Regions from separate parts of the Homo sapiens genome. Here regions 1, 2, 3, 4 and 6 are each linked to region 5. The links are contacts of gene promoters, found by promoter capture Hi-C in blood cells and fetal thymus (Javierre and others, 2016). All regions are on one chromosome and are shown on one strand. The core of a region is centred on a gene start or on the middle of the fragment in contact, and the rest is flanking DNA. Distances in the headings are between cores, read along the strand shown. Region 1 overlaps ERH (ERH mRNA splicing and mitosis factor). Region 2 has its middle 11 kb from the start of SRSF5. Region 3 overlaps SLC39A9 (solute carrier family 39 member 9). Region 4 overlaps MAX (MYC associated factor X). Region 5 holds the start of ATP6V1D (ATPase H+ transporting V1 subunit D). Region 6 overlaps SLC10A1 (solute carrier family 10 member 1).

Region 1 (3,866 bases), core at 62-2,561, 2.0 Mb after region 5:
GAAATAAATTCCAAAGTAGGAATGCTTTATACAATTAACATCATATTCTTCCTCTGAACAGTAAGGTCACAATCTGGTTTATTAAAAATGTACAAGATTCCCATTTTTAAAAATGCTTAACCAAATTTAAAAATTCTAAAATTTAATTTTTTCTGAAAACTCTTTGTCCATGCTTCCTAATTAAATAAGCTCTAAGCTAGTCTACTGCAAAATGTAGCAGAAGAGACTATAACATTTATATTAACACTGGAAAATAACTTAAAAAGGAACAAAATTTCTCACAATTATCATATCTGGGTGGGACAGGCTTTGTTTATACCATTCCCCCCAACAAAAATCACTCTGGTTTGTGAACATTAAGGAATCCATCAACTTGCATGCAATTTTCCAACTCATCAAATAGTAGGCCAGGTGCCAGTGGCTCATGCCTGTAATCCCAGCACTTTGGGAGGCTGAGGCAGGCGGGCCACAATGTCAAGAGATCAAGACCATCCTGACCAACATTGTGAAACCCCGTCTCCACCAAAAAAAAAAAATACAAAAATTAGCTGGGCGTGGTGGCGCGCACCTGTAGTCCCAGCTACTCGGGAGGCTGAGGCAGGAGAATCGCTTGAACCCTGGCGACAGTGCAAGACTCTATCTCCAAAAGAAAAAAAAAAAAAAAGCAATAATGCCTTCTTTATGGAAAGCTGTGTGTCGATGGCTGTTAACTGGCACTTGAAAATGAGACAATTAAATGTTAAATACTTTAATAAAATGCCTAGTCATTGGCACAGATGAATCTTTTAACCTATTGTTATGGTCAATGAATGTAGGTTTATATAAGAACAGAAGCTGTGGGTCTGGGCAGTGAAATCAGAAATGTCTTCAGTGATAACTTCTCTTACTGATCAGGAATACCTCTTGTCATTATAATAACTGACAGTTTAAATGTTCTTTATGTCTCTAAGCAAACAAGAAAATACTGCATAATCAAAAGGGCATTATTTTCATCTTACAAAAAGCTTATTTAAAAAACATACAGATCAGAAAACTGGAAAAATCTGACTCTGACTTTAAGTATACGAAATACAAATTTTCATGCCTACATTTTATTATTAATGCATGGTCAGTTTGCTCTGGGTTTAGTCATGTTACAAAGTAGAATCTTATTTATTCCATTTCCACCTACGCTGTTTAAAAAGAATTAATTTAAAAAAGTCCTAGGTCACTGCCATGTAAATTTAATAGAAACTATGAGCACACAACCATCTACAAACCAAAAACGGACCCAGTCTCTGGTCTGAGGAGTAACGGCCCAAATCACAGGATGTGCTGTGGCAGTGGGTTACCTCTTTGGAAACAATACCTTATTTCTCCTGAATATTCAAAGAACAAAAAGGACATAACCAAAGTCACCTGGGGAAAATAGTTTTAAATCCTAAATTTGATTCTGAAAGTTTTTCAGAGGCCAAAAAATTTTCAACATTAGAAACAAACAAATAGTTACAGGTTTTCAAGCTATGATAATTTACGGTTTTTAACACTCTGAAACTACTAAAAAACCATAAATTATCATTAACCTCTCTTCTATATTTCTGGAAATACTGTAGGTGGGAAGAATTATCTAGGTAATAATTAAAGCTTTCCCCCTATGTTGCTTTAATATAGCAAATATTGTATTAAAAATCAGTTTAGTATGCTAGATATGGTTTCTAGTTTACATTTTAAAGTCTAATGCAGCCGGGCACAGTTGCTCATGCCTGTAATATCACTCCTTGGGGAGGCTGAGGAAGGAGGATCACTTGAGCCCAGGAGTTTGAGACCAGCCTGGGTAATATAGCAAGACCCTGTCTCTAAAATTTTTTTTTTATAAAGTCTAGTACAAAGTTAGAAAAGTTATGTTATGTCATTAATGACATACTTGTATATCATTAACATGTCACTTGTAACTGTTTTACTCTGCTCAATTTTCATATTGTTGAAAAAACCTCAACACCTTTTAAATCTCCCTTGAAATTTATAATTTATCTCACACGTAGACATTAAAATTCATATCATTCTACTCCTGGCAAATTTAAGAACATGCTTGTAATTAAAAATAAAACTCTATCCTGACTTCTTCAATCTAGTTGAAAAGGGAGTTGCTGCATATCTAATAATGCTGTGCTCAGCAAGCACTTGATCCTCACAAGGAGTCTTATGAACTAGATTTGTCTGAATTTTACAAATTAGCAAACTAAAGTTTAGCAATACAAAGCTGCCTTGTCAAAGGGAGCTAGCAAATGGTAGACCCAGGATTCAAACCCAGCTATGTCTAATTCTGCCACTCCAGCTAGCTCTTAACCACAGCCTCCCAAGACAAGTAAAACATGATCCTTTGCTTCAAGTTTACTTCCCACTTACTGGGAGTAAGTATGACATCCCAAAAGCGTCAGGATTACATCCTGAATGTTTCAGTAAGGTTCTTTTATAAAACCATAAAGACAACCATTAATTTTTAATCAATGCAGAATATAGCTCTGTAATATAAATAAGGGAAATAGAAAATTATCAATAATTTTAGAAAGCTATTCCTCAAATAACAACACAAGTGACGTGCATTTATATAACCAATATTTACTCAGCACTAATTATGTACCAGAGATGCAGCAGTGAACAAACACAAAGCAACTTCTTCTTAAATTCTATCAATTAATATACACATTATTGGTAATTTCATATCCAGTGGATGATTCTGTCAACACTTAGGCCTCCCAATTCCATGAAGTCTTTTCCTCTAATGATCTCATCTCCTACCCTCTCTTGGCCAGATCCCTAGACCTTGTCATTTCCAACTACTTCAATTTCCTAATTTCAAGCATGTCATTCTCTGATCACCACTTCCTAACACTCTAATGTGAGCAATCCTTGATCCAGTGGGACCTACAATGAACTGATCTACCTCTGTTTCCAGCACCTCCTCCTACACCCCCAATTAAAGCTCATGGTCATTCAGTCGTTGCTGTTGTCCTCATATATGCCCTCAACCTTTAGCAAAATCTTTACTCTCTACCTACTCCTCACCTGTAACCATCCAGGTGAGAGAGACTAGGAAAAAAATCCCATGATCACAATGACTGATTTCACTTTAAATCACTATCAGATAGGTACTTTGGAGGACACTTAATGCATCCCTGAATTAATTGCAGTTCCCTAATTCTTTCACCTTCCTAGCTTATTTCTTACTTTTCCACAAACCTGTAACACCTGTTTCAAATGATGTCCTTGCTCCTTATCTTTCTGAGATAACTGAAGCATACAGAAGATAATTCCCCCCAGCTCCCAAATTTGCCTGTCCTCCCTTTTTTATGATTGAACTGTCCAAGAGCCAATTTGAGCTATCAGTTTCTCCTTCTCTGGTACATCATCCCATCAGCCTGCAAACTTACCATTACTTTTCCCACTTAAAAAAAAGCAATTTCTTTCTCCAGCTACAACCCCATTTTTCTGTTCTTTCAAGCAAAATTCTTTAAATAAAAAAAAGGAAAAAAAAAAAAAAAGCAAGCCTGTAATGGCCACCTATAAATCCTCTCTTTTCATTCCCTTCCATACACTGAAATCTGTAAGCATTTTACTCCTGGCACTCTACCACAACCGTTCTGGAAGTCACCAAAGACTTCCACAGTGTCAAATCCAGGGGTCAATTAAATTCTCAGTCCTCACATATCTGTCCTATCAATGATATGACACACTTCTGCATTTGGCTTCCAGGATATCATTGCTCCCTGCTCCTCCAATCTCCTAAGACACTCTCCTTCACTCATTCCTCTGCAGCCTCAAAGGCTTCCTTAATGACTTCAAACATGCTAGGCACTCCTACTTCAGGACTTCTACACTAGCTGTCC
Region 2 (4,179 bases), core at 904-3,403, 2.4 Mb after region 5:
AGTTGACCTTGGCCCATTGGAAGAGCTCTTGGGCTTGAATCCTACACTGTCACTAATAGTTATTGAGCTTGGGAAAGAAACTTCTCAAAATATATTTCCTCTACCGTAAAACAGGATTAGCAGTACCTCTCTTAGGGCTGTTGAGGGGGTCAAATGAAAGAAGCCTATGGAACTCCTTGAACAGTACCTGGGCATGTATCAGCCCTCCAATTATTCCTGAATGTTACAATTACAGTAGGTAACCATTAGGAAATCTTCTTGTGCCTAATCATGCAAGGAAGATAGGCATGACCCAGGCAGATAAGACGGTTTCACATGTCTTTGCCAAAGCAGGGCCTAGTGCTGGAAGATAAAGCGGGTTTGGCCTGCTTTGGTGAAAGGTTGGTGGGTGCTTGGGAATTTAATCTAGGGCAGTCAGGGCCATTTTGAAATGGAGCTGCTTGTTTATTCAACATTTGGGATTTCACCTTTGTTGACAATAATACTGAGAAACATCATCCTCATCTATGAGGTGAGCTCTTTGGCAGCCATGTTTGTACCATGTGACCTCATCTTTGATTGGACCAGAATAGACACCTTACCTAAACGGGGCCAATCAGGTTTTCCTTTCCAGGGAACTTGGAATTGAGACTCACATGCTCATTCTGGGATCTACCTTTTTTTTTTTTTTTTTTTTTGTGAGACAGAGTCTTGCTCTTTGCCCAGGCTGGAGTGCAGTGGTGTGATCTCGGCTCACTGCAACCTCCGCCCCCCGAGGTTCAAGTAATTCTCCCACCTCAGCCTCCCGAGTAGCTGGGATTACAGGCGCCTGCCACCATGCCTGGCTAATTTTTGTATTTTTAGTAGAGACGGGGTTTCACCATGTTGGCCTGGCTGGTCTTGAACTCCTGACCTCAGGTGATCCTCCTGTCTTGGCCTCCCAAAATGTTGGGATTACAGGTGTGAGCCACTGCACCCGGCTGGGATCTACTTTTGAATGGAAGGGATATGAAAACTGGGTGATAGGGTGTGGTCATCTTCTCCCATATGGATTGAGAGGCAAGGAAAGCCAAGCTGCAGGAGGTGAGCAAATGACATAAAAAAACAGAGGAGGGAGGTGGAAATTGTATGTATCTGAGTTCTTGACAGTTCCCACTTCCTGTTTCAGACTCCTCCTCAGGCCTGAGCACATTCTGACCTTTGGATTTCATGAGACACTTCTGAATCCTTAACAATAAATCCATTTTTGATTGCTTACACTGGATCATGTTGTATGTTAAGCTATTTTGCTCTCAAGTTACAGAAGCCAACTTGAGCCATCTTAAGCAGAGAGAGGAAATTAGTGGAAGGTGCTGGGGGCATCTCATGAGATCTGGGAGGTTTAAACAACCCAATTTTAGGAGGTGCTGGTACAAGGGCAGCCCTGGGTACTTCAGCCACAGATGGGAAAGCCACCTTTCTTCTCACCTGCTGTCATTAAGATGCTTCACCTTTGGGCCTCTCAGTTCAAAACTGCAAATTCATAGGGTAGACAGAAACGCATTGTTCTATGATGAGACAATTAGTAATGAGTAGGGGTAGCTTTAGACAGCAGAGACATAGCTGCTTAAGAGAGTTTAACCATGAGAACAGCACATGACATTATCCAAGGACAGGGAGTGGCACTGATCAGCCAGTCCAAGTGACGTCCTGTACAAGCTGGTTTGCACACTTGTTTACAACTTATTATGAGCAGGAAACTGTGCTTCTCACTGAGAAGGGTGCAAAGATCTGTAAAACAGGGTCTCTAACATCAAAGAATTTATAATCTGTCTACAAATAATCACATTCCAAGGAAGTCTGTGATAACTGCTAGAGGAGATGTACAAGCATAAAGTGCTACAGAAATTTAGAGAAAGGCATACATTTGAGCAGTGGTGACTGTGGCCCAGATGTCAGACCAGGTCATGGTTGGCAAATGGCTTCCAGAACAAAACACTAAATATGCACTTAACATGCCTTGTAATAACAACCAAAAGGAGCATTTATTTAAAATTAAATGTAAAATGCAATAAAGCAGGAATGTGTTTTTGATGGACTAATCCATAGCATGTGAGCCACACTGACATATACAAATGTACCAGGTCAAGAGTGGACACAAACCAATTGTGCCAGGGTTCTGTCTGAATTCTAAGGCAAGTTAATCATATTCCTGTGATCCTTAGTCCCAGCCCTGATTATAAGCCTTTGGTCGGCTTATCTCCCTTGAATTCTCACCCCCATAGTATTTGTACGTGTGCTCTTCTGGGCTCATGGCCCTTTTCACGCTGGTCATTAGAAGGCTCCTTCCAAGGCAAACACATTCTTAATCTGTGCACAGAATACTCCCTCCACATCTTGAATTTTTAAAAAACAATTTATTTTTAATTTCTAAAATGTTAAAATATTTTCAGAGACTGGGTCTCGTCATGTTGCCCAGGCTAGTCTTGAAGTCCTGGACTCAAGTGATCCTCCTGCCTCAGCCCCCCAAGTAGCTAGGATTATAGGTATGAGCCATTGTGCCGAGCTCTCCCTTCAAATCTTTGCCTCAACAAAAACCTGGGTGACTTTATCTGTTTTCGTGGTATCAACTGTCACATATATGGGGATTTTTCTCAACTTAAAAAAAAAATGGCTCATATTTGTCTCCTATGCTTTAGACGTATGCATCCTACTGCCTGACGGAATCTTCTCCTAGGATGGCCCAGAAACTTCCAAATCAATGAGCCTGAGTGGACTCGTGGGCATTACCTGTTCATTCTCTATTCTCTGACCCCTCTATTGCACCCATGCTACATACCCATACTCCAGCCTGGAAGTGCAATTTTATTCTTTTTTAAATAAAAAAATTTTTTTCAGATGGGGTCTCACTCTATCACCCAGGCTGGAGTGCCGTGGTGCAATCTTGGTTCACTGCAACCTCTGCCTCCTGGGCTCAAGCGATCTTCCCACCTCAGCCTCCCCAGTAGCTGGGACTACAGGTGTGTGCCACCATGCCAGCCTAATTTTTCTGTAGTTTTTATAGAGATGGGGTTTCACCATGTTGCCCAGGCTGGTCTTGTACTCCTGGGCCCATGCAATCTGCCTGCCTTGGCCTCCCAAAGTGCTGGGATTACAGGCATGAGCCACTGTGCCCAGCTTGAAATTTTATTCTTATCTCTCTTTTATCTATTATGTCAAATTGATCACCAAGTTGTTATACTTGGTCCTCTCAATATTTCTCCAATTTGTCTCCACCCTTTGCTGCTGCCCCATCAATCCCACGATTGACTTAATGCACAACTATTTTTGCCTCACCGTCTGGGTTAGTTACCTATTGCTGTGTGACAAATTACCCCCCAATTTAACCAGCAAACATATTATCTCATGTGGTTTCTGGGGGTTAGGAATCTGGGAGCACCTTAGTGGGATGGTTCAGCATCAGGGTTGCTTGTGAGGTTACAGTCAAGCTGTCAGCTGGAGCCACCATCGTCTCAAGGCTCGACTGGGGCTGGAGACTCTGCTTCCAAGCTCACTCACATGGTGTGGGCAGGACTCTTTCCTTGCTAGCTGTTGGCTGGAGGCTTCAGTCAGCCTCTGCATAGGTTGTCTGAGTGTCATAACATGGCAGCTGGCTTCTCCTCAAGTGAGTAATGTATACATTTGTGTGTGTGTGTGTGTTTGCGAGAGAGAGAGAGAGAGAGAGAGAGAGAGAGAGAGAGAGAGAGGAAAGTCATAGTTTTTTAAAACCTAATTGCCAACGTTTTCACTTCAGCCATATTCTATTGGTTACATAGAATAAACTTAGTGCATGTGGGAGGGTGTGTGTGAAGACCAGCATGTGAGGATCCTTAGGGGTCACTTTGGGGTTTGGCCACCACAATGTCAATTCACTCTTTTGGTAAAACAATCACTTGATTTTCCTTTGGGAAACAACCCCTCCCACATTGCCAAGCTATAGTATGAGTGGGGCTGCCCCTCCTTCATTTCTGATGTAGGTCCCCATTTATAGCATAGGTCCTGACTGGCTAATGCTGATCAGCGCATCCGTTCTGCTGTGGACTGAATGCTGTGTCCCCTCAAAATTCACATGTTGAAATCCTAATCCACAATATGATGGTATTTGTAGGTGGGGCTTTTGAGATGTAAGTGGGGTTAGATGAGGTCATGAGTGTGGGGCCCTATGGGATTAATGCCCTTAAA
Region 3 (3,843 bases), core at 38-2,537, 2.0 Mb after region 5:
CATTCAAAGTGCTCCTGGGTTGCATGCGGCCCACGAGCCATGAGTTGGACAAGCTTGATTTACATGAAAAGATATGCTTTTTATTCATGTTTTTAATCTTGCTGCTGCTTTCTCATTCAATACTTTTTCTAAAAATATCTCAGAACAGGAATAAAAGTCAGATGATCAATTATGGCAAGATTAGTATTTAAAAACGAGTTAAAATTAGGTAGTCTGAAATTGCAGTAGTGGTGGGGTCTACCTGCCAGATGTGCCCACCAAGAGGTTTATGTGACATTGATTTCTCTGTCAGTTTCTCCTCACCCCAAAACTACCTTTCTTGATACTTTTGTGGCCTTCTTCCTTGCCCTTTGACCTGGCAACTGTACTTTCATGCCTTAAAAATTTATAAAACAAAGGAAAAAAAATCCGATTCTCAAATGCAATTATAAGTAACTATGATAATCAGGATGTAAATTTTTTCAGTATACAGGAAAGAGAAACACTTTTAACTTTTAAAGGAGGCCAGCCAGGTGCTAAGTGGCTCACGCCTGTAATCCCAGCACTTTGGGAGGCTGAGGTGGGCGGATTACCTGAGGTCAGGAGTTCGAGACCAGCCTGGCCAACATGGCGAAACCCCATCTCTACTAAAAATACAAAAATTAGCTGGGCGTGGTGGCATGTGCCTGTAATCCCAGCTACTCAGGAGGCTGAGACAGGAGAATTGCTTGAACCCAGGAGGCGGAGGTTGCAGTGAGCCGAGTCCCACCATTGCACTCCAGCCTGGGGAACAAGAGCAAAACTTTGTCTCAGAAAAAAATAAAAATAAATAAATAAAAATAAATAAATAAAGGAGGCCAAAGCATGCTTTACACAAAGGAAGCCCTGTTTGGTAAGGGAGTGAGACCCGTTGGTTTATAGTTAACACTGTCTTATGTTTTTTCGATTGAATTGCTAATGAGTAGTTTTCTTTGGCTCTAAATAACAATGTTACATAAGTAGGTTGAGAGCCTATATTACCTAGTATAAACTCAGTGCTGCTGCAGTTGATAAATGGAGCTATGATACAAAAACAGATGGCTCAAGTGGGATTTCAGATTGATTATCTGAGGGTTGTTACTCACCTGAGTATGTCTCCTCTTTGTCACAGAGCTGGTAACAGAGAGCAAGCTGTTTTTGGCTCAGAGCTCTACAGCAATATTCCTCAAACTGCCTGGTAAAGGATCAGTTTTTGTTTTTAATTTTTATTTCAATCCATACCAATACACTTATAAAAATGAAATAGTAGGAAAATGAAGTGAAAAAAAGACATAGAAAATACAAGCCCAAATGTATTGTTAAATTCAACAGATAAAAAATTACTACTATAATTGTAATAATCATATTGCTCTAAAAATTTCTGAAGGCTTTATCTCAGTTGCCATACTTTTCTTATTGCAGACCAGTTTGAGTTATAATGCCACATTTTTCATGTATTAAAACAGCAAAGCAGGCCAGGCGTGGTGGCTCACGCCTGTAATCCCAGCACTTTGGGAGGCCGAGGCAGGCGAATCATCTGAGGTCGGGAGTTCGAGACCACCCTGACCAACACGGAGAAACCCTGTGTCTACTGAAAATACAAAATTATTTGGGCGTGGTGGCACGTGCCTGTAATCCCAGCTACTTGGGGGGCTGAGGCAGGAGAATCGCTTGAACCTGGGAGGCGGAGGTTGCAGTGAACCAACATTGCGCCATTGCACTCCAGCCTGGGCAGCAAGAGCAAAACTCCCTCTCAAAAAAACAAAAAACAAACAAACAAAAACAGCAAAACTGGATGTAGTGGCACACACTGGTTAGTCCCAGCTACTCCAAATGCTGATGTGGGAGGATCACTTGAGCCCAGGAGTTCAGGGTTGCAGTGAGCTATGAGTGTGCCTGTGAATAGCCACTGGCAACATAAGGAGACCTACTCCCTAAAATAACCAACAGCATAAATCCATAAGTTGGCAGATGAAAGTAGTGCTATTCTTAGGATGATTTTAAAGATGAATATGATTAATAATGCACTGATTTCAAAAGGGACTGTCTGAGACAGTATCATTCAAAGTCAATGTTACTACTTGAACAAGCTATTAAAATCCAAATCTCTTCTGTTAAATGACCTTCTAGGATTGTTGTGAGGTTGAAATAATATAAGCACAGGCTTAACACTATGTCTAGAACATAATAAAAACTTTCAAAAATATTGAGGCAGATTCTCAATACTGATTAGAAAAACTTGTAAAGATTTTCATTTTTATAACTTTGTTCTAATTTATAATTGTTAAACCTTTTATTTGGAAACAGACTTAATAATGGGAAGCTCCTCCCCCTCCTCCCCTTCGCAGTCATGGAAACTTCTCGGCAATTTGTTTGGAATCCAAAGGTCTTGTTGTGGGGTTTGGTTTGCATTACTATTTACCATTCTATTTGGAGAGGCCAGGGCTTTTCCTCTACCCTCCCTGCTTTATACTATTTTTCTTAGTATTTAACTCTCTTTTCTTCATTATACTTACTCTCATTTTAAGCTTTGTTTTGTTCTTTCGTGTTTTAAAGTTTTGTGTCTGTATTAGTCCATTCTTACACTGCTAATAAAGACATTTCTGAGACTGGGTAATTTATAAACGAAAGAGGTTTGATTGACTCACAATTCAGCATAGCTGGGGAGGCCTAAGGAAACTTACAATCATGGCAGAAGAGGAGGCAAACACATCCTTCTTCATGGGGCGGCAGGATGGAGAAGTGCTGAGCAAAAGGGGGAAAGCCCCTTATAAAACCATCAGATCTCGTGAGAACTCACTGTCACAAGAACAGCAAGAACTCACTATCACAAGAACAGCATGACCTCCCACCAGGTCCCTCGCATGGGAACTACAACTCAAGATGAGATTTGGGTGGGGACACAACCAAACCATATCAGTGTCTGATTATAATAACTGACTCATTCATAATAAGTATCTTTAGGGGTTTGAGTTACCCGCAAATCAAAGGTTTATTGTGTCTGAAGAACAGATTTATTCAGTATGCTTCTGCCTCTACAATAGGTTCTCTTTGAAGTAGATTTAACAATGTTACATTTTTAAGGACTTTTATATTGTCTGGTACATTGCTCTTACCCTCTTATGGTAATACAAGAGATTTTATACCTGTTTGGAATTTCATTTGTAAATTCTAAGATTTGAGCCGGGCATGGTGGCTTATACCTGTAATCCCAGTGCTTTAGGAGGCTGAAGCTGGAAGTTTGCTTGAGGCCAGGAGTTTGAGACCAACCTGGGCAACAAGTGAGACCCTGTCTCAGATGAATGAACGTAAATTATAAAATTTTAAACTTTGCAATCTCAGTAAATTTATCCATATCTGGAAAGAAATCATCAGCTTGTCTTTTCTCAGATTGAACTACAGATTATTGTTTCATAAGGATCCTTGATAAAACTAAGTTTGGATCAAATAAAATCCGGTTGCAATATGATTCAATATTATTTTCCTGAAAAACTTTGTTTTCTCCAGGATACTATATTGATAAACATAATTAAGACTTATCTGCATAATAATATTAATAATGTTTATTGAGCTCTTTCTGTATACCAGGCAATGATATGCACTATCTTATTAATCCTCAGGACCAAGACTATGAGATACTGTTAAACCTCACTTTACAAATGAGCAAACTCAGGCTTGAAGAGGTCACAGACTCTGGTAGAGGTGTGATTTGGAACTAAGTCATTTTGATTCCTGTTGCCAAATCAGTCACTTGACTACTAAATGTTGCCTTTCCTAATGAATGCTGTGTAAAGAAGGAATGAAAATAGGATCTACCTAAATTGATGCCTTTAGCTCCCCAAATTA
Region 4 (4,144 bases), core at 788-3,287, 2.3 Mb before region 5:
ATCTATACAAACAGAGGGCCAGAAATTCAAAAAATGGAACAAGAGTAAATAACTTGGCTTAGCACAAGAATAATGCTGCCTCACATTAATCCTTGTACTAGAGAAGATGTACAGACAAAAATCTATCAAGAGTTGTGAAAACGAAAGGACTTGAAATTCTCCTGTTATTTAATCCTAAAAGTCCCAGTCATTACAGAGGAAGAGGAGACTGGGAGCACCTGTAGTCATCTGAGTTACTTCCTGGTCTCTTAAACATAATACCTCACCTACAGCTCTGTTGAACTGGACATGTGGTTCCCATGACAACCATGGTTCTCCATAGCATATCTCTCTTTTTGGGGCAGATGCCTGGAGCACTTCTAAAGTTGTCCTAATCTTGTTAAGTCTGGATTCACTGTAAAATGAATGTTTACTGAACTATAGTGACATGAAATATGAAGCTGAGAGGACAGTCAAGTTTGGAACACCACATAACCTGAGGGTAGAGGTAGGTACTCTGTATCATACAACTTTAGCGCAAAATTATAGATGCCTTCTAACAGTAGCATGAAATAGTGCGACAGAATTGAACCTATTTAAGTATCTAGTCCTTTTGAACTTACTGTTGTTCCCTCTGATCATCTACATAAAGATAAGTTGGGCTGCGACTATACCTAAGGAGCTTAAAGGCCAAGAGACAATATTTGGCATGTGTCTGCGGCTCCTGTTTGCTATATACTACCTAAGGTGGTTTATTTACATGCAAATTAATTGCCCATCTTTGGTCTCCAGAGCAGCCCAAGATACTCCTGTCTACTAAATCACCCTGATTCTTGGCCCTCCTCCCAGCTAAGAGCTGTGCACCAGAATTACCCACAATCCCTCTTGTTGATACAAATAAAATTCTAATTGTCTGTTTTCTTTCTGGGAGAGCCCTGCAAATCTCAAACAGCTAGAATGAAGTTGCACTTGGTTTCACGTGGACCTGCACTAAAGGGGTGGAGCTAAGTATAATCTAACACCAAAATCATCCCCACAATGCACTACCCCCTCCCATTCACTGAGCTCTGAAAGGACTCAAATGGACAAGTCTCTCGGTTGGAGGATTGTAAGTGAACTTGGCTGTAGATCATGAGCAGAAATCTTGGCTTCTCATCTGGGGAGCCAGCCAAGTTTGAGAAGTTGGCTCAACAAGGAAAGGCAGCAGTCCACTGCCTGGTAGAAAGCCTGGGCTGGGGACTGTTGTTCTCAAAGTAGTGGATGGAATTTCTGTAGTGGTTCCAGGCCCAATTTAACTAGCAGAAGAGTGGAATCTTACACCAATCCCTGCTGCCATGTCCATCCCTGAGCTACTAGTGGAGTCAATTTTAAATCTCTCAGAGACAATGGCAAGGATGTATTTTTCTCTTCCCCAAGCTTGATTTGAAAGAACAAGTTAAAAACATGCAGAACTAACAAGCCTAATTCCAGGCAACTGTGAATTAAATGTTATCACTAATGTTTTGAAAGAGCACATGAAAAACAGAAAAACCTTTACACAAGGCTGAGAATTCTCTGTGGGAAACATTTCCAAACCACAGATCCACCCAGACCAATAACACTGCCCGCGCCTCATCCCCACCCCCATTGGAGGACTAGTTTGCAGGCTTTATCACTGCCTTGTTAACTGTCTTTGCTTGCTGGCAACCCTTTTTGAGAGGGCCAAGATTTCAGAGTTGAAGAAGAAAAACTGGGTGAAGACTCCCAGTGTAAGGCATCTAATATCCTCCCCCAAATGCAAAACTGGTTTTAAAAAACAAGCCCAAACAATTGTCTTGAACAAATAAAACTCTACTCAGATGAGCCTGTACTGAGAATGATGTTCAGTAATGAAAACAAATGGTACGGAAAACCCCCTTGTGGAATTAATTAGGCCCTATTCTAGGAGACCACAGAGGTATTCTTGGACTGTACAGCAGGCTCCCAAACATCTCCCCTACACATCCTATGGTTACAGTGGCTGGATGCTGCCCACTCTTCTAGTACGCTGGATTTGTACGTCTGGATGTCTGCCAGAAAACCCTTCCTCCAGGGCATCCCTAACAGAAATACTAAGGGGCTATGCAGTGGTCCACAGATGCTCAACAGAAACTCCCGCACCAAATCACTTCCAGCTTTGACATCTCTGCCAAAGTTTTTATTCAGCCTCTCAGTTATATTTCTACCCAACTTTCCACACTGGTAGACAGAATAAAAATCTTCACCTACAATTTGTCCATCTTTGACACTACCAAGCACGTGTATCTTAAGTGTTGTTAGATGTTGAAGACAAACATTATTTTGTTAGCCAAGAAGTTGCTATGTTGGCAAGAAGTCATCTAGGCTAAGGAGGTCTGTTCAAAATTGAGGGAAATCTCTTAAAATTATTTCCTTCCAACTTACTGCAGAGAGACTGCATCTTTGTTCAAGGCATCACATCAGTCAGTAATCTTATTTCCTCCAAGTTCTAGGCAAATAGCACGGGGAAATAAATGCTTCATTATTCCAGGATGCACAAGGTTCTCCAGAACAATGCCATGTCTTACAGGCTACCTGACAGCTAACCCCACCTATAAGGGGAACCATCTCAATTCTAATACAGAAAATTCTCAGCATATAGGGAATTAGTTGCCCACTCAATATTTACTACCTTTACAAAATGTGAAGGTTGTATTTTAGAGGGAAGCTTGTGTTGCTTATGATTCTTATCAAGCTATTCTTATTAGAGACTAAGGACACGAGAATACACAGACCCAAAAATCTCATCCGAAAAGATCTATTTCTTACTTCTGATAGATAAGAACAAGATAGGATAAAGCTCAATTTCTAAGCAACTTAAAATATTCATTTTAATCAACCCAAAAATTATAACATAAAATAATAGGCAGGTAGGATGGGATAAACTCACCAAGCTCCCTAAGAGAAAGACATGGATTTCAATTTTCCAATACCTGTCCTGCTTGTAGCTGATTGCCTGGTATACATTTCCAACATTATCTAATGTATGTATTTGTTTTCAAACTTTTTTCTTTTGGTGCCTAAAATAACTGGCAAATGCTATAATCCAAACAGGGCCTCATACTATAGCCATTTCAGAGAAGGATGCCTTGGTCAGGAAATTTTAATTAAAAACCAAGCTGAATTCTTTGACCAACTATTTCACCGTTACTGGCATCTTGGAAAAATTCTTTTAGACATAAGAACAACTTTTACCCTAACACAGGCACATTTAGGAACTAACTCTGGCATTTGTTATCACTGTAAGCATCACTGTCAACACTCTAAGCAGAGAAAAAGTACATGCATTGTGCAGCACTTTTGCCATGCAACTGACTGCAGGTAAAACAGACAGTAGTTTCCTGAGTGAATTCCAATCTCGGAGGCTACCAAGCTCGTTCTCTTCTGAATATTCCTAAAGAAGCAAAGAGCTCTGAGAAGTTAAAAATATTTCATGCCAGAAAGGTCCAGAAGTGGAATTGCACAAATCTGTTTTCAAACCCCTCACAAGTATACTGCAACTGCAACTCAGTCAGGTGCCATCAAGGATGGTCACTGGAAAAAAAATTGCATTTCCTGACCAACACACTAACCCATACATTTCCTGTATACTTACACTCTTTCCTAAAGAAATTTCCCAAACAGAAATAAAGCAAAAGGAAGCCCTTGCAATATAATATACCTGTCCCACAAATTTATCTTTAAAATGCAACCTCTTCCCTCCAAAATATAATAAAAATAACATCAGTGGGATTTTGCGATGTACTGAATTTAGTAGTAAGAATACTCTTTGGGGTTACTTCCTTTAACAAAGCTTACTGGCCATTGGAGAAGCTGTTTTCCGTTTGTACTGAAGCAATAGAAAAAAATATTTGCCAAATCAGTTTCACTTTCTGTTAGAGTTAGCCTAACTTCCTAACTCTCTTCTCAGTATCTTACATTTCTCATGTAGTAAGGCCTATATATTGTAGTGACATTATAAAACATACATGAATGTTTTTATATTAGGATCCACAGAACCCTTTTCAAATAACTTTTTCAACATCTTCTGTAGTCCTGAATACCTAAGTATTTGGTTGTTCACAGTCCACATCTTTTTTTAAACCTTTTTTCTAAGGCAAAACTTAAGAATAGCTCCCTCTTAAATTTT
Region 5 (3,819 bases), core at 1,012-3,511:
TTTTTGCCTCTTAGTCTCAAAGTAAAAGTTTCAAAGTAAAAACAAAAAAGTTATTCTGACTGCTGTCAAAGATAAACCCAGCCAGACATTCGTTAAAGTAGTGAAAACAGATTTTATTCAGTAAACCACTGATAGTAGGGGAAAGGGCTGAGCTCAATTCTCATTTGTGCAGAGGTGACTGGCCATTTTAAAAAAGAGAGTAAGGGAGTGGCAGGGAGCCAGCCGCAAGAAGAGTCAGAGAAGAGAAACCTTAAAGTGTTGGTCAGTGTAAACGCCATACTACCTGGCAATTAGTAAGTTACTATTCTATCCTCTCACACAGACTGGGAGACAAAGCCCCTATCCCTCCTGATGATTACGTTTCAAAGAAATGGCTCTCAAAGATACTTGAAGGGACACTTCAGAGTTGGAAGAGATACATATTAACAATTGTAAGCCTGTTTCGTAAATGCTCTAAAAAGGGAACGAGAGGGGTCTATCAATTAGGTGTTGACTAGAACAAACAGTAAATTCTCCCCCTAGCTTTGAGCTTTTTCAGGCAGGCATTTTAATGGCGGGGGCGGCGGGGGGCGGCCTGGGGTCACCCTAGGGGCAGGCCTTACATTGCTAGAAGATAAACTAGTGTCGATGTCTTTCAGTGCAGAAGTTTTGACTGAGTCATCACGTCCTAGGAGTTCTGCAGTTGTCACTACCTCGGGATAGTCCTCATCTTTATTTCCCCACAACTAGCTTGCTGCCTACTTAGTGCAAACAGCTATTAGAAAGTCAACAGGTGAAGGTAAAAAATTTAAAAACTTCATTTCATTAAGAGCTATTTAGTCACCGGGCAGAAAGAAATCTGGGCTTCAGGTTTGAATATAACTTTTATTTTAAGCATCCTCAGATTCTCTCAAAGGACAGAATGAGGAAAAACAACAAAACACCCCCACAGAGATAGGACCACAATAAAAGGGTCTAAATGTCAGGGTCAAAACTGATTTTCTGCTTCCTCACTGAAAAGAAAAAGGGAAAGCCAGGCGCGGTGGCTCCCATCTATAATCTCAGCCGCCAGGGAGGCTGAGGCCGGAGGATCACTTGAGCCCAGGGGTTTGAGGCTGCTGTGAGCTCTGATCATACCACTGCACCCCAGCCTGGGAGACCCTGTCTCTTATTAAAACAAACAAACAACAAACTAAATAAAAATAAACAGGATGAGGAGGAGAAAGGGAGCAAGTTGTTAGGCACATTTGAGAAAACGTCAAAATTTTCCTTACAAACTAGCCAAACACCTACAGTGATATGCCATTTTCCTGACAAAGAATTCAGGCCCCAAAAGAAAGGCAGCCCACAACTGAGCGTATTCCCAAGCATGAGTTCTTTCAAGAAATATTTTTTTGTGGACCTTCTATGGATTAAGACACTCTTTCATCCTGGAGAGAGCCCACAGTCTAGTGGGAGAGAAAGACACATAAACAAATATCTACTTTACAGCGTGATGACCGGTATTAACACAGGTCTGAACAAGGTGCAGCGGTGAGAGAGCAAAAGCAGTGCCTCAGAAACACAGGGATATCCTCTCACAGCAGGTGACATTTGGCGGGATCTTGGAAAATGAGTAAGGGGATCCAAGATCGAATCCGAGGGCTATGCTAGGGCGATTCGATTCCATCCCCACTTTGGCTTAGGGACCTCTTCTATATCCTCAGTAAACTTCCCTTCTCAGAGCATTTATTAAAACCTCCTTGGCCTTTCCAGACGAATGTCTGGCTACGTAAACTGTGAGCTCTGTAGGGCAGAGGTGGCGACGGTTCAGTTATATAAATCCAGTGCCCGGCTCAATAAGGGTATGTGGAATGGATGAATCCATTAATGAATAAAGACAGCAGACCTCCACAAAAGCCCGCCGGCCGGGCGCCTTTTCCTACCGGCTGGGATCGCTTCGTCCAGCCTGATTCACTCAGGAGGAATGCGCGAAGAGGCCGTCAGGAAGCCTCGCCCTAGACTCAAGAAAAGAACCTGGGAAAAGCTCAGGATCCTCCCAGGAAACAAGGACCCTCACTGTGGCCCAGGGTCTGAAGGGACCGCGCTCCGGGTTCCTAAACCTGTGAAAGCGGCTTATCCCATTCCTTTACTTACATTCGCGAGGGAAAGATTTCAATTCGGTCTTTGCCCGACATTCTGACGATAACTTTTCGGCTCGGGTCCCCGGCCGGGCAACCGAGGCTGCAATAGCTCCAGAACTGGCCTCCACAGTGTCTTCCTCTACGGGAGTCAGCTGGTTGTGTCACTTGACCCCTCTTGTTGCTAAGAGGCAGCAGGGACACCCATTTTCACTTCCGCTTCCGGTTGTCACAGGCGACGAAGGGGGAGGACAGAACAGAGGCGTTGCCCGGATGTCGAGGCGCGCGCACCGCGGAACCACCCCTCAATTCCGGTTCGCCTCCCAACCCCTCCCCATCCAGCTTCCCTGCGGCTGCGCAATACGCGGCACGCGCCAGGCCAAAGACTAGGAGCGAAGCGTGCACGCCTTGTCTTTCTCCACCTTTCGTCTTTGGTCACAGCGCCATCTCATGGTTAGCTGAAACTTTGAAAGAGGATTCATTCTTCAGAGGCAAGGAATCGGAGTCCTATGTCTTTCTCGCGCCTTGAAGGTTACTTAGCTAAAGCTAAGATAGCGAGAAACAGTACTTTTCAGGTCCTTCCATGATCTACATTCGTCCTTGTTCTCGGAGGACCCAGACTCTATGGTTAATGATGAAGAGGGGCCTCTATTCGTTCAGCGCTTGCGCATGCGAGGAGGTTCCGCATGCGCGGTGGAGTGAGCGAAGCGCACGCTGAGGAGGATCGGCGGCCGGTGAGGGGGAAGCAAGTCTGGTCTCTGTGATTGAAGAAGTCGGCTCTGGGCTCCAGTGCGGGAATCACACACATACCTCAGGTGACTAATCCCAAGCTCGGTTTCTCCAGGAACTCACTTTGGTTTGTGTCCAGTGACATGGGTGTTCGAGAGCGGGTAGGCCCCGGGCTAATACCTCCCTTTCCCGTCCCTGCGCGGGAAGTGGCTGGACAGCACCGCCACCACCCGCGCTGTCGTGGGCCTCCTCGCCGGCTCCGTGTAGGTCATCCTGTGTTCCAGAGGCATCGTTGTTCGAGCAGAGGAATCTCGTGAAGGAAAGTGGGCCGAGTGGATTGTACAGCCTCTACAATATGCCGAAAGTGAGAATGCCATGACGATGGGGCGGTCTCAGGAGAACGCTGTGACACCGTAACTCTTAACCCCGGCTCAGGACGCTGAGCACTTTGCTTTTTCCAGGCTTGAGAATTCCATCTTTTCTTCCGCCCCAACAGCTCTACCAAAAATTTCCCCTGCGTCTCAGTGGAAACCAAACTGGCCTCTTACCTGAGAAACCTGTGGGACGGGCACCGTGTTGGAAAGAGCGGGGTCCGAGTAGTTTTTCATCTGATAATTGAATGAGTCACCCCTTGAACCAAAACTAAATGAGACTTGAGTTTATTACTGTTACTATCAGTTTGTCGTATTTTGGCGACAATGAGAATAGAACTGTGTTAAGCATATGTTAGGTTAACTATGTTAGTTAAGCATAACTAAAACCTAAGATAAGGATATATTTTCGGGTTAAATACACAGTCATGCTGAGGTCTCTTTATCCTCAAAACTTAGGCTTTTTAAATTTTTATTAAGCAAAAAACATGGTTTCTTCGAGAAAAAGTATAGCAGAGAAGTCTTTATTTCCCCTCAATTGAGTTGTTATTCAAGGAACAATCTCTGTCAATAGTTTGGGGGTGACTTGTACAGAACTTTGCTACCTATTCTTAGTTCAT
Region 6 (3,717 bases), core at 507-3,006, 2.4 Mb after region 5:
TGGTTAGATAATAGAGAAAACAATTTGAACAGGTAGGTATATATGGATATAATAAGTAAAAATGATAGGTGGTAGCCTTGTCAAAAATCTGCGTTTTTAAGAGGATGTTAGTAACCCAAATCTGTGTTTCTCGTTTTGGTGTTGGGAGTACTTGTTAGTCCTGCACATTTGCCAAACTGATACCCGAAAACTATATTGTCTTGGTTTCATTTGTACCTGACCATACAAAATGATAAAAATCCCAAGTAACTAATAAGCATGATTGACTTTTTGTAATTGTTAATATTAGTTGTTAATCATTTACTTGATCCTTATTTACATATGATATGCAAAATGTTTAAATTTTATTAGAGACAATTTGAAATTTGTGAATTCTAGGTATTTGAACATTTTTCTTTGAATTGGGAAACGACTCATTTTGGCAGTAGTTTGCTGTACCCAGTTTTGGGGGCGCCTTGTGTTAAAACCAAATACCTACTGAACTTAAAAAAGAGATTATTAGTGAGGTAACATTGTGTTAATGTATGTGTTTGTTTCCTGGTTTTTCCTTGTCAAAAGTTTTCCTCCTCTACTAACATGATGCATTCGCCCAGTTTTTTCATTTCATTAGCTATTTTTTGAGTTTGTTTTGCCTGATTGCATCTTACTGTGTTCACTTTTGCATACTTGATGTCAAATTTGACTTTTCGGGAGCATCATCCCAATAATGTCAAAAGGGAAGGAATAGGATCTGAACTTTTTAGGTTAGAACTTCTGAAGTTTAATTCTACAGCACTTGTGAGCATTTATTTCTCTTTTGGGTCACAAAACTTGGAATGGGATTTGGGTATTTGAGTAATGGGTTAAACATATATATTGATTAGTTCAGGAATTGAGTGACTTTAAGATGCTTATCAGACACTTTTAGAGATCCCAGCAAGAGGCAGATTCGGTTTCTGGTTTCATAGAGTTTACAGTCACTGAACAAGTCTTTAAAATAAGTAGCAAATTCTAAGTTGGGGATAGGTGAGGCTTCTTGGGTAGACACCCTGTCTGTGTTCCCGGCCAAGACTTGATGATTCTGATAGATGTACTGGAAATGCTGGAGAAAGACTCAGGCAAGACTGGTGTTTTTGCTGCTCTCTCTAGTTTACCACACTGGCTTTCAGAATTGCTTTGGGACCAGAATCCAGGCCACCAGGGGAAGGGCTAGGCTGTGCAAGGGGAGCAGTCCTCCCCTTTGTAGGTGCCATTTCCCAGAGCTCCTGGAATTGTTTCTTCAGTTGTGGCAGCTGTGTAGATCATTTTTGTTTTATCTGTAAAGTTAAAAAGGGTTACAGGTGTAGAGAGAGAACAAGAGGAGTGAACAATGAAGCTTGTTTAATCTGGAAAGTACAAAAATACCAACTCAGCCCTAGAGTGTGCTAAGTATATATTTTCCATCTCTGTCGTCTCTCCCATGGTTTACTCTTTAAACTCACTTTCCCCTCAGTCTCCCTAATGGTAGTACTAGTAGTAAAAGTCCTAATGAATTAGACTATTGTGTCTTCATCATCACTTCACTTCTAACTTCGTTATACAGTAAAACAACAGGAGATGAGTTTATGTATGCAAGGTCTGTGTTGCATTCAGGGAATGAGGAGGCAGGCAGGAAAGATCTTCGAGAAAGTCTAACCAAGAGAGTTTCCAGTTCTTCCCTCCAACCCCCAATTGATCTACCTCTTCTTGTCCGTGGTGTAGGCGGTGATGCAAATTTGAAGATAGCTTTGATTCCTGCACCTTTCTATACAGATGGGAGAGTTCTCTATACAGAGTTGTTCTCCCATCAGGTGCAGGAATGAAAAGTATAAAAACTTGACAGATTCCTCCCCCCTGAGAATAGCTTCTTGGGGCCATTAGGTCCAAAGAAATACGTTGCTTTGATTTAGTGTTTCCACTGGGGTCTTCTGAGATACACTGTGAGGAAAGTTCTTTTCAAGTCTTGAGAGCTAAAGATCCATAGAGTATTGTCCTTTGAGGTCACTTCAGGTCTTTCTGGTACTAAAACCTCAAATCTGGGAATTTGGTTGGTCTAGAAACTTCTGTGCACTTTTTGTAAGAGGGCAGCAAATCTCTTGCGTTCCTCTCAGATAAGCATCAGAGTAGATTCTTTCTCACAACTCTACTGTAGCTTTGAACCAAAGCTTCTAAAATGGTTCTAGTGTATGGTCAGCCTGTACTTGTTTCGTGTTGGCTGCTTGGCAACCTAATTACATCTTAGCTAATTGCAAAGGGAGAGAGAATCGGCATTTGCTTGCTAGTATAATGTAACAAATTCCAATAGGGAAAGTTGTGTATTTCTCCTAGGGTGTAAATCACAGTCCCTAGGGTCTAGAAAGGTTTTGAAGGGGACTTCAATTCATGGACATGAAGGGACAGTTGAAGGATTTGGGTAGGTACTTAGGAAGAATATACTAATGTTGAGAGTTATAATGAAATGTGTTATAAAGTGGGTTTGAATGTCCTGTTTTTTTTTTTTTTTTTTTTTTTTTTTAAAATTGGTGTTAAAGTGCACTTTGAGGAAGGCACTCTGTTCTCTGGTCTGTCTTGAGGTTCAATTTTATTTTGAAAGGTAATACTCTGAGCATTTTAGAGAAGAGATGCTATGTTAACCCCATAGTGATCAGAGTAAAGTATAAATCATATTAAGTTTATTGTGGAGGTAGTTACTGTTTAACAACCGTATGCTTAAGTTTCCTTTACTGCGTAACTAGAGTTGAGGAATCTTTTTTTTTTTTCTTTATTCTGGGTTATATTAGGGTGCATTGCTTTCATATGTTTTTCCTCATACGGAGGTGCCAGTGGTGCTGTGGCTCTGATCTGGTTCCAGGAAATGAGAACCTAGTCCTGAGAAATGGAAACTTCCCCAACTCTTGCGAATAGAGGCCTTTCACACAACTAATAACCTCAGTTGTCCAAGGCAGTTTTGTCCTATGATGTCTCCCCACTGAGACAAAGCAGCCCAAATTGCTTCAGTTTTATGAGGTAAACTGCATCTGCAATTTCATTCTCCCAGCTAGAAGGAAGAAATGGAGTGCAGTTGATGGAAGTAGTCTTGGATCTTTAATGCTTCTTGGGTGCTTCTTGGGGCTACCTGGTTCTTAGTGACTTGATAAGAGTTAAAGCCCTATCCAAAAAGTCCCTGCTAGAAACTTGCTTGTTGGCAGGCTCAGGTCTAATATTGGAGCAGAACTTGAAGTGGGGATAATTTCAGTACTCACCCTTGGGAGTCTTGAATTTCTCATAGCACCAAAATATGGCAATGAGGAGAAGCCCTTCTCCAAGCTGGAAAATCATGTAGAGGAGGGGAAAGAAGAAAAGTGGTCCAATGACTTCAGGTGGAAAGGCCACATTGAGGATGGTGGAACAGAGTTGGACATTTTGGCATCCAGTCTCCATGCTGACAGTGCGTCTGCACCTGTGCCGGTGAAGAAAACCCCACATACACTCAGAGGGAACTGGAGGGAGCAACTTTGTCCCAGTGCTGCTACCAAAGAGTTTCGCAGCAGATGGAATCTAGACCCTGGACAGGGGTACTTTGCTATTGCTGCTGGTGTTTGGATACCTTTGGTGTCTGGATTTTTAACCCGTTCAATACCTTCATTCAATTTTTTTCAAGTCTAAAGTCTCTTGTCCAGTTAGTGCATCTGAACATATTGCCAGGAAAGTGTCTTGCCCAGATTTCAGGTTCCTAGCTTC

Evidence for each region. The method cuts DNA at HindIII sites, captures the fragments that hold promoters and counts their contacts. A CHiCAGO score of 5 or more calls a contact.
Region 1: a fragment that was not itself captured here is called in contact with the fragment with the promoter of ATP6V1D in region 5 in 1 of 17 cell types (neutrophils); the score reaches 8.1 in neutrophils.
Region 2: a contact is called between a fragment that was not itself captured here and the fragment with the promoter of ATP6V1D in region 5, in 1 of 17 cell types (neutrophils). The highest score is 14.1, in neutrophils.
Region 3: a fragment that was not itself captured here is called in contact with the fragment with the promoter of ATP6V1D in region 5 in 1 of 17 cell types (neutrophils); the score reaches 16.5 in neutrophils.
Region 4: a fragment that was not itself captured here is called in contact with the fragment with the promoter of ATP6V1D in region 5 in 2 of 17 cell types (fetal thymus and non-activated CD4 T cells); the score reaches 10.5 in fetal thymus.
Region 6: a fragment that was not itself captured here is called in contact with the fragment with the promoter of ATP6V1D in region 5 in 1 of 17 cell types (naive B cells); the score reaches 6.0 in naive B cells.

What each region holds. Positions count from the first base shown.
Region 1 is chr14:69,382,146-69,386,011 of GRCh38, forward strand. The region is part of intron 3 of ERH (ERH mRNA splicing and mitosis factor); the gene reads right to left. It also overlaps a transcript of GALNT16 not described here. Among named protein-coding and RNA genes, the nearest start is that of ERH, 14 kb to the right of the region's middle. The HindIII fragment of the contact is 619 bases long and covers 1,003-1,621 here.
Region 2 is chr14:69,754,332-69,758,510 of GRCh38, forward strand. No RefSeq gene overlaps it. Among named protein-coding and RNA genes, the nearest start is that of SRSF5, 11 kb to the right of the region's middle. The HindIII fragment of the contact is 5,135 bases long and covers 1-4,179 here.
Region 3 is chr14:69,402,292-69,406,134 of GRCh38, forward strand. The region is part of intron 1 of SLC39A9 (solute carrier family 39 member 9); the gene reads left to right. Among named protein-coding and RNA genes, the nearest start is that of SLC39A9, 5.5 kb to the left of the region's middle. The HindIII fragment of the contact is 2,472 bases long and covers 52-2,523 here.
Region 4 is chr14:65,094,944-65,099,087 of GRCh38, forward strand. All of the region lies in intron 2 of MAX (MYC associated factor X), which reads right to left. Among named protein-coding and RNA genes, the nearest start is that of MAX, 5.5 kb to the right of the region's middle. The HindIII fragment of the contact is 1,288 bases long and covers 1,394-2,681 here.
Region 5 is chr14:67,357,543-67,361,361 of GRCh38, forward strand. ATP6V1D (ATPase H+ transporting V1 subunit D) reads right to left here and starts at 2,262. Exons shown (of 9, transcript NM_015994.4): 1 at 2,116-2,262. The coding sequence starts at 2,156. EIF2S1 (eukaryotic translation initiation factor 2 subunit alpha) reads left to right here and starts at 2,786. Exons shown (of 8, transcript NM_004094.5): 1 at 2,786-2,914. It also overlaps a transcript of GPHN not described here. RefSeq lists enhancers at 1,373-2,159, 2,002-2,221, 2,242-3,041. The HindIII fragment of the contact is 15,355 bases long and covers 1-3,819 here.
Region 6 is chr14:69,775,094-69,778,810 of GRCh38, forward strand. It overlaps SLC10A1 (solute carrier family 10 member 1), which reads right to left. Exons shown (of 5, transcript NM_003049.4): 4 at 3,240-3,436; 5 at 323-1,295. The coding sequence ends at 1,189. Among named protein-coding and RNA genes, the nearest start is that of SRSF5, 9.8 kb to the left of the region's middle. The HindIII fragment of the contact is 808 bases long and covers 1,353-2,160 here.